Linked DNA regions of Homo sapiens: region 1 is linked to region 2. The links are contacts of gene promoters, found by promoter capture Hi-C in human tissues and cell types (Jung and others, 2019). All regions are on one chromosome and are shown on one strand. Each heading gives the region's core, a stretch centred on a gene start or on the middle of the fragment in contact. The rest is flanking DNA. Distances are from core to core; before and after follow the strand shown.

The links. Contacts are between HindIII fragments. The study calls those that stand out against the background at their distance.
Region 1: a contact is called between a fragment that was not itself captured here and the fragment with the promoter of FZD8 in region 2, in 1 of the 25 tissues and cell types used here (dorsolateral prefrontal cortex).

What each region holds. Positions count from the first base shown.
Region 1 is chr10:37,480,959-37,485,455 of GRCh38, forward strand. No RefSeq gene overlaps it. Among named protein-coding and RNA genes, the nearest start is that of LINC00993, 170 kb to the left of the region's middle. The HindIII fragment of the contact is 5,492 bases long and covers 210-4,497 here.
Region 2 is chr10:35,640,598-35,644,916 of GRCh38, forward strand. It overlaps FZD8 (frizzled class receptor 8), which reads right to left and starts at 1,699. Exons shown (of 1, transcript NM_031866.3): 1 at 1-1,699. The coding sequence starts at 832. It overlaps LOC124902528 (zinc finger protein 469-like), which reads right to left and starts at 2,249. Exons shown (of 2, transcript XM_047426128.1): 1 at 2,033-2,249; 2 at 1,131-1,816. The coding sequence starts at 2,249. The coding sequence ends at 1,131. It overlaps MIR4683 (microRNA 4683), which reads right to left and starts at 655; the gene lies at 575-655. LOC105376494 (a long non-coding RNA gene) reads left to right here and starts at 2,718. Exons shown (of 2, transcript XR_930820.3): 1 at 2,718-4,319. RefSeq lists an enhancer at 1-47 and a silencer at 158-247. The HindIII fragment of the contact is 11,910 bases long and covers 1-4,319 here.

The DNA.
Region 1 (4,497 bases), core at 1,706-4,205, 1.8 Mb after region 2:
CTGGATAATTTTTCTATTTTTTAGTAGTGATGGGGTTTTGCCATGTTGGCCAGGCTGGTGTCGAACTCCTGATGTAAGGTGATCCGTCTACTACCACCTCCCAGTGACTACAGGTGTGAGCCACTGCACCTGGCCAAAAAGTCTATATAGTCTTAGAAAAAGCTGCAGGCTGGGCATGGTGGTACACACTTGTAGTCCCAGCTACTTAGGAGGCTGAAGCAGGAGGATTACTTGAGCCTAGGGGTTCAAGGCCAGCCTGGGCAACATAGCTAGACCCCATCGCCTTAAAAAATGCAGAAGTTAGCCAGGCATGGTGGTGGGTGCCTGTAGACCCAGCTACTTGGGAGGCTGAAATGGGAGGATCCCTTGATCTCAGGAGTCAAAGCTGCAGTGAGCTGTGATCATGCCACTGCACTCCAGCCTGGGCGATAGTGTGAGCCCCCATTTCTAAAAAAGAAAAAAAAGAAAGAAACTGCAGTAGATAATGTATAATGGAAGACAATAAAAGAAGGAAGATGAAGCGTTTTTCCCCAGGGAGTTAGGCTGTCAGTGTGTCTGTCTGAAACCTTCCCAGTAAGTCAGTATTTCTAGTGCATGCCTGGTAGAATTACCTTGCTTTGTCTTCTAATTCATTCACTCACAAATTAATATATGAATTCCTATTATAATCCAGTCCCTCAGTCAGATGCTAGGCACACGTGATGAGTGAAATACAGTCCCTGCAGTTTGGAGCATACATAAAGAAGAGTATAAAAACTAAATGTCAGCCGGGCACAGTGGCTCATGCCTGTAATCCCTGCACTTTGGGAGCTTAAGGCAGATGGATCATCTGAGGTCAGGAGTTCGAGACCAGCCTGGCTAAGATGGTGAACCCCCCCCCCCCCCACTAATAATAATAAAAAAAGTTAGCTGGGCATGGTGGCACGTGCCTGTATCCCTAGCTACTCGGCAGGCTGAGACAGGAGAATCGCTTGAAACTGGGAGGCAGAGGTTGGTTGCAGTGAGCCGAGATCATGCCACTGTACTTCAGCCTGGCGACAGACCAACACTCGTCTAAAAAAAAAAAAAAAAAAGGAAATGTTCTAGATTCTAATGAAGAATGATGACATAGTTTGGATTAATTATCTTGGACTGGTTTTTTTTTGTTGTTGTTGTTGTTGTTTGTTTGTTTTGAGACAGAGTGTTGCTCACTGCAACCTCCGCCTCCCGGGTTCCAGATATTCTCCTGCCTCAGCCTCCTGAGTAACTGGGACTACAGGTATGTGCCACCACACCTGGCTAATTTTTGTATTTTTAGTAGAGACCGGGTTTCACCATATTAGCCAGGATGGTCTCGATCTCCTGACCTCATGATCTGCCCAGCTCACCCTCTGAAGATGCTGGGATTACAGGCCTGAGCCACAGCGCCTGGCCTGTCTTCAGTTTTATACATTGTATCCAGGTGTGGACTTTTACAAATTTATATTGCTTGGGATTTGCTGTGAGTTGATGTCTGTCATCAGCTCTGGAGAATTCCTGGCTATTATTTCTCCAAACATTGGCTTTGCTCCAATATCTCATTCTTCTTTCTTCCTGTATGTCGATTAAATGAATGTTAGATCTTTTTAACCACTCTCCTTTTTATATTTTCCTTCTTTTTTTTTCCTTTTCAAGCTGAATTATGGATAGTTTTTTCCTGACCTGTCTTCTGCTTCACTAATTCTCACTTCAGCTGAGATGATCTGCTATGAAGTCAGCCACTGGCTTTTTAACTTCAATGACTGTATTTTTCAGTTTGAGAATTTCTAGTTGGCCCTTTAAAAAACTTTTGTGTCATTTTCTATAGTTTCCAATTGCCATAATTGTCAAGTGTGGCTTTTATGTTTCTGAAGGCAGTAAACAGAGTTGTTTTATGGCCTGTGTCTAAGAATTCTCATTTCTAAAGTCTCTGTGAGCCCGTTTGCACTCTTGGCTGTTCCTGCCATCCTAGCTCTTAATGTCTTGTTTTATTTCTTTTTCTTTCTTTTTTTTTTTTTTTGCGACGGAGTCTTGCTCTGTCACCCAGGCTGGAGTGCAGTGGTGCAATCTCTGCTTACTGCAACCTCCACCTCCCTGGCTCTAACAATCCTCCTACCTCAGCCTCCCGAGTAGTTGAGATTACAGGTGCACGCCACCACGCCTGGCTAATTTTTGTATTTTTAGTAGAGACTGGGTTTCACCATATTGGCCAGGGTGATCTTGAACTCCTGGCCTCAAGTGATCCATCTGCCTCAGCCTCCCAAAATGCTGCAATTACAGGCATGAACCAACAAGCTGGGCTGTAATGTCCTGCTTTCTTGAGTACCTGAATTATGTTAGATGGTATTGGGCATTACATATGTATGAATATATATGTATATACGTGAATAATGGTGGAGTCTTCCAGATAGGTTTTTAGCTGTGTCTGCCAGTGGGGCACCACCAGTCTGGAACCACCTTAATCCAAGTTCAAAGTTTGAGACTCCTGGACCTCCCAGATGATCTGAACTTGTCTGTGAGCCTGAGGGCTGCATACTTGCCCTCCTCCCTGACCCTGCGGACCCTGCTTGACATGGGGAGTGGTGTATCTGAATCCCTAAATTTGGCAGACCCTGGGCTTTGAATTGTGTTCTTTTACCCTGTAAGACTATGGAAAAAACAGCTCATTTTCAAAGCTATTTTTTTCCAGATTGAAAAATGCCTTAGGATAAAAGCTTTGTGGGCTGGGCGAACCTCTTCTGGGTTTGTCCTGGCCTCAATTTTGGCAGATGTTTCTTCACCACTTTATTATCATTTTGATCCTCTTAAGGAAATTAAACAAATCTTTCAGCTGGCTTTTTAAGTTGTCTTTTGTAGAAGAGTTTATCTAAATTACTTAACCTGCTGTTAGCAAGGGAGAAGTACCAGGTGACCTAGGTTCAAATCCCAGGTGTGTGTATCACTTACAGCTGGCTGGTGTCAGCCAAGTTTGTTTGCTCATCTATCTGATGCACACATTAAACCCGTACCTACTTGATGTCGTGGCTGTAAAATTTAAAAGTGAACATTGTTTTTTATAAAGGGATATAGTCACAGATTTATTTATTGTGTGTGTCCCACACTAGAATGTCAATTCCAAAAGAATGGCACTTCACAGCCTGGTGTGGTGGCTCATGCCTATAATCCCGGCACTTTGGAAGGCTGAGGCAGGCAAATCACGAGGTCAGGATTTCAAGACCAGCCTGGCCAACGTGGCAAAACCATGTCTCTGTTAAAAATACAATTAGCTGGCTGTGGTGATGGGCACCTATAATCCCAGCAACTCAGGAGGCTGAGGCATGAGAATCGCTTGAACCCGGGAGGCAGAGGTTGCAGTGAGCCGAGATCACGCCATTGCACTCCAGCCTGGGTGACAGTGGGAGACTCTGTCTCAAAAAAAAAAAAAAAAGACAAGTGGCACTTCACCATTATTTGTTATTTCCCTAATAATGCCTGATACATAGTAGATGCTCAATCAGCATGGACTACAGGAAGGGTTACTTTGTAAAGATAACCAAGTACTTACCCAGAAAACATGTATGTAGGCTGTGTACAGTGGCTCATGCCTGTATTTCTAGGTTTCTGGGAGGCTGCTGTAGGACCACTTGAGGCCAGGAGTTTGAGACCAGTCTGGGCAACATAGTGAGACCCCATCTCTACAAGAAGAATTTTTTAAAAAATTTACTGGGCATGGTGGCATGCATCTATAGTCCCAGCTACTCAGAAGGCTGAGGCAGGAGGTTCACTTGAGCCCAAGAGTTTGAGGCTGAAGTGAGCTGTGATGGCACCACTGCACTCCAGCCTGGGTGACAGCAAGATCTTGTCTCTGAAACATTTTTTGTAAAACCAAGATTTGAACTTGGATTAAGGTGGTTCTAGAAGGGTGGTGCCCCAAGGCTTGGCAGACAGAGCAAGAAAAAAAAAATCCCCGCATGTATTTAAAGATAAAACCATATCAGAAAACTGCATTCTTGGGGATCAAGATCAAATCTTCATATCAGCATCTACTATCTATGTAGAAGGTCCTGTTCCCCTTTGTTAATTTCTAAACCTGGTTGTTAGATTAATACAATCATTGTTATTTCGTTTTAATTTTTTACTTGATATGATTTTTTTTTTTGAGACAAAGTCTTGCTCTGTCACCCAGGCTGGAGTGCAGTGGCAAAACCTTGGCTCACTGCAACCTCCACCTCCCAAGTTCAAGCAATTCTGCTGCCTCAACCTCCTGAGTAGCTGGGATTACAGGCACATGCCACCACACCTGGCTAATTTTTGTATATTTTAGTAGAGGTGGGATTTCGCCATGTTGGCTAGGCTGGTCTTGAACTCCTGACCTCAGGTGATCCGCCCACCTTGGCCTCCCAAAGTGCTGGGATTACAGGCAAGAGCTACCGCGCCTGGCCCCCTGATATGATTTTGAACAGGATCTTTATCTTCAGTGAAATGCTGATACTCCATTTCTTTGTGGAAACAGTCTTGACT
Region 2 (4,319 bases), core at 449-2,948:
CGGTGAAGGCGCGCTCGTCCTGGCTGAAAAAGGGGTTGTGGCAGGGCAGCGCGCAGTTAGCGATCTGGCCTGTCTTGACGCGGTTGTAGAGCGGGTGGCGCTCGCTGGACACGCTCACCATAGGCGCGCGGCACTGGCACCCGGGCTCGCAGGGAGCCGCGCCGCCGCCAGGGGGCCGCGCCTTCCCGCCACCGCCGCCGCCGCGAGCTGGGGGCGCCGCCGCGTCCCCGCCGCCACCGCCCCTGCCGCCGCCGCGGTGCGGGGGCCTGGCCCCCGGCGGGCGGCCGTGGCCGCTGCCCGAAGGCGGCTGCTCGCCGGGCGGCGGCGGCGGCAGGCGGCGCGGCGGGCTGGGCGCGGCGGTGGTTAGGTCGGTGCGGTTGTAGTCCATGCACAGCGTGTCAGGGTTGCCTTGCTCGGGCAGCCGGTCGCAGCGCATGCGGTCGGGCCAGGCGAAGCCGTACTGGCGCATGAGCGGCGCGCAGCCGGCCTTGGCGCGCTCGCACACCGAGCGGCAGGGCGGCAGCGGCTTCTTGTAGTCCTCTAGGCAGATGGGCGTGTACATGCTGCACAGGAAGAACTTGAGATCGGGCGAGCACTGGATCTCCACCAGCGGCCAGAACTGGTGCACCTCCAGGCCCGCCTCGTCTTGCGTGTCGTGGTTGAACTGATTGGGCATGTAGGTGTAGTTGTAGCCGATGCCCTTACACAGCGGCACGGTGATCTCTTGGCATGCCAGCTCCTTGGCCGAGGCGGCCGCAGCGCCGCTAGAGCGCTGCAGCAGCGCCAAGGCGGCCAGCAGCGAGGTCACTTCCAACAGGTAACCCCACTCCATGCTGTGCGCCTCGGCCCGGTGCCCTCGCCCTCCAGGCGGCGCGCAGAGGGGTGCCGGGGGGGGGGCCCACGAGAGAGCCGCAGACGGGTACAGCGGGTGATCTGGGGTCTCCCTTATGCTTCGCCCGGGAGGGGGGTCTGCCGATAATCTAACCCCTTCTAGGGGCGCGTCCGCAGCGGCGCGGCCCGCAGCCTGGGCAGGGCCCTTCCGCACTCCTTTCCGCCGCTCCGGGGGTTTGAAGGCGGCTGCAGGCGCGCGCCACAGTCCGTAGGTCCGCTCTGCTGGCCCCGGGTCGCGCTCAGCCCTCGCGGCGCAGAGCGGCCGGGCCTCGGCTCATCGTCCCGCGCTCGCTCGCCTCCTCTCCGCGCGCCCGACCACTTCTCCCCGCCGCGCCGGGCGGCGGTGACTCCGCCGGACAGAGAGGGCGGAGGCGCCGCAAGTTTCCTCTGGGGCCGCGGTGCGCAGTCAAGATGGCTGGGCCGGGCCGCTTGCCGCGCCGGGTCAGCCCTGGCGGCCACCACTCGGCCCCCGGGGGCTCATGCCCGCCCCCAAGGCCAAGCCGCCGCCGCCGCCGCCGGAGTTGGGGACCCGCCTCGGCCCAGGCCGCCGCCCTCTTTCTCCGGCGTCCGTCCTTCGTCCGTCCGCCGCCGGGACAGACGGACCCCCGCCGCCTGGAAAAGTCAGCGCCGCGCTCCGGCCGCAGTCGGGCGAGGTGCACACAGTCTCCTTCCTGCTGGACACCCAGGAGCAAATCCAGACCGGAAGGCGGAGCGGACACCTGAGTGGCGCGGCCCGCGCCCAGCCGCCGCCTCCTCCTCGGCGGGAGCAGCGCCCTTAGCCCAACTTCCCGGCTCCAGCCCCGCTCGCGCCGCGCTGCCGGCTCATGAATATTTATACAGCGCGGACTCGGTCTCCGCCCCCAGCCCCGCGAGCCAATCGCCGGGCGGTAGGGCGGAGTCCACGCGCTCCCAGGGCTCAGCCTTCCTTAAGGCAGTCCCCGAGTGTCCGCACTGCTGTGCGCGCTCTCTGCGGATGGAGAGTTTTGGTAACCTTGGGATTGACCGCAGAGACAGAGTGTTGGCCATGGCTGTCCCCATGGCGCTGAGTGCGTCGGAGGTCTTGGTCCCCTTACCCCGAGTCTGCCCTTGGGGACAGGGACGGGGTTTGGTGCAGCGCGCGCCTCCCCGGCGCGTTTCAAACCAGCCAAGCCCCTGCTGCCACCCTCCGCAAATGTGGGTGATCTGCAGGCGGCTGGGGTCTCGTGCTCCTCGGGGCGGCAGGAAGGTCTCGCAGCAGGCGAGCGCCGGGGAGGCCTGCCGGGGCTCGGCGCTGCAGAAGACCCGGGAAAGGGTGTCCTCCTTGGGGTTCTCAGAACGATGGTTTCTGAGACTTGGAGATGTGGGGGGTGTGGAGTCATTCTAAACTGGGGCTGGACCCGGGACGGCCCGGGTGAGATGCCCCGGAGCCCAGCCTTGGGCGCGCGAGGGGCGCGGGGGACAAATGCCCGCCAGAGACTCTCCTCCCGCCTCCGCTGCGTGACCTGGGGGAGCCTCAGTTTCCCCACCTAGAGAGTTGGGTGATCATAGCACAGATCTCCAAGGGGGCTTTGATAATTAGGTGAGATAAAATATAGGAAGCCCCGAGCCGCCGTGCTTTCTTAGGAAAAATCATTCAATTTCTTTCTAAAATTCAAAACAAACCTCGAAACTTATAAATAGGACAGGCTGGAAACTCTGGGGCTGGATTCCCTGTCTTCCCTTCGTTCTTTCAGGACGTCTATTCATCCATCCCAAGTTCACAGGCTTTTGCCAGAGCCTCCTTTTCTCTGGTGGGAGGCGGCGCTGCGCTCTGGCGTGGACTCCGCGACACGTATCTGCTCTCTGCACGAGGCCGGAGCCGGACCCGGGCTGCTTTTAGCAGCCGCTTGGGCCACCGCCAGCGAACGCTGCCCCCGCCGGCTCCGCCGCCACCTTAAGACGGGCCGGGAGGGGGGCTGCGGGCGGCCCGGGCCGGCGGCCTGGCAGGTTCATTTACGCTTGTTAGGGCGTCCCAGGGGGCTGTCTTTCTCCTAGAATGGAGTGTTTATTTTTTAATTGATGTGCTGTTTCATTTAGCGCTTGTATGGAACTCATGCTGGGGCAGTAATTACTGTAATCTCGGGAACAAGCATTTCAGTTAGCCAGGAGGGTGGCAGAATATGTTTCTCTCTCTCTTTCTCTCCCTCCCTCCCGCCTCCTCCCCATCTCCGTCCCCCTCTCTCCCTCTTCCTCCCTGCCTCTCTTCTGTCTTCCCTCTCTCTCTCTCCCCACCTCCTTTCCTTCTCTCTCTCCCCCACCACTTTCTCTCCCCCCTCCTCCTCTTCCCCTCCTCCCTCTCCTTCCTTCCCTCCCTTTTCTCTCCGCTCTCTCACTCTCTTCTTGTTTCAAGATTTTTGCTATTTGCCAGGTTTCATACCGGAACAAGTACAGTTGGAGAACAAAAGTTGCAGAGGGCGTGGGGACAGAGCAAAAGAATTAAAAGTACATTTGAGGCCAGTTCCGGTTTTCGGGGCGCTGCTGGTGGTGGTGGTAGCTCGTGGTTGTCCGTTCAGAAACAACTCTTGTCATAAAACAAAAATAACCAGCAGTATTTGTAGATTGCTTGAGCTGATGGCATCTATGTCTTCCTCCTCCTGCTTTCTGTAGCTCAGTTAGCAACCTCATTATGAAACATATTACAAGTAGACTGTCAGACCGCACCCTGCCCCAGCGCCCCGTTTTTGGCAAGTTCTGTGTTCTAGGCATATCCACCAATCTATAGTTATACCCCCCTATCTTTTTAACTTTTTTAGTTTTAGTCTATAGAGTTGAACCTCTTTATACTGAAAAACAACACTTCCTTCCCACTTTTGTTTTGGAAAAACTAAAGTCCGTAGGAATTCGGAATTCAAAGGCTTCAGAAATATTAGCTGATTCAGCAGAAAACGGGCTATTCAAAAATACAGACTAGACCTTTACTTGATTAAAAAATTTTTTTTCTTTTCTCACCTCCTGCAAATCGGAATTCCCACTTGTATGTTGAATGTAGAAATTCACTATCTCTGCGGTTGGCACCTTGTTTCCAGAGGGCGAGTCTCCAGAACGCATCAGCTGCAGGTAATTGCCAGAGGTTCCAGTGCTGATCTGAGGGCAGCGGTGCAGGCAGAGCCCCAAAGACCAGCAAGGGTGCTGCACTGCCCGCACCACAGATGGGAGGGGCTGGTTTCCAAGAGCAACACAGATGGTGAAAAGTTTCTGTTGCTTTTCTTCCACGGGGAAATGTCAAATAGTGAAGTTTAGAATTACACTACATAAATTTGCTAGAATTGGGTAAAAACAAACTGACATTTGAAAATTGAAATTGAAGCTGAAAATGGTTGATTTTGGCTCTTAATTGGCTTTAAATTTTTTTTCTTTTTTCTTTTGAGACAAGATGAAAAGTTTGATGATGTGGAATGTGGAAATTTTGG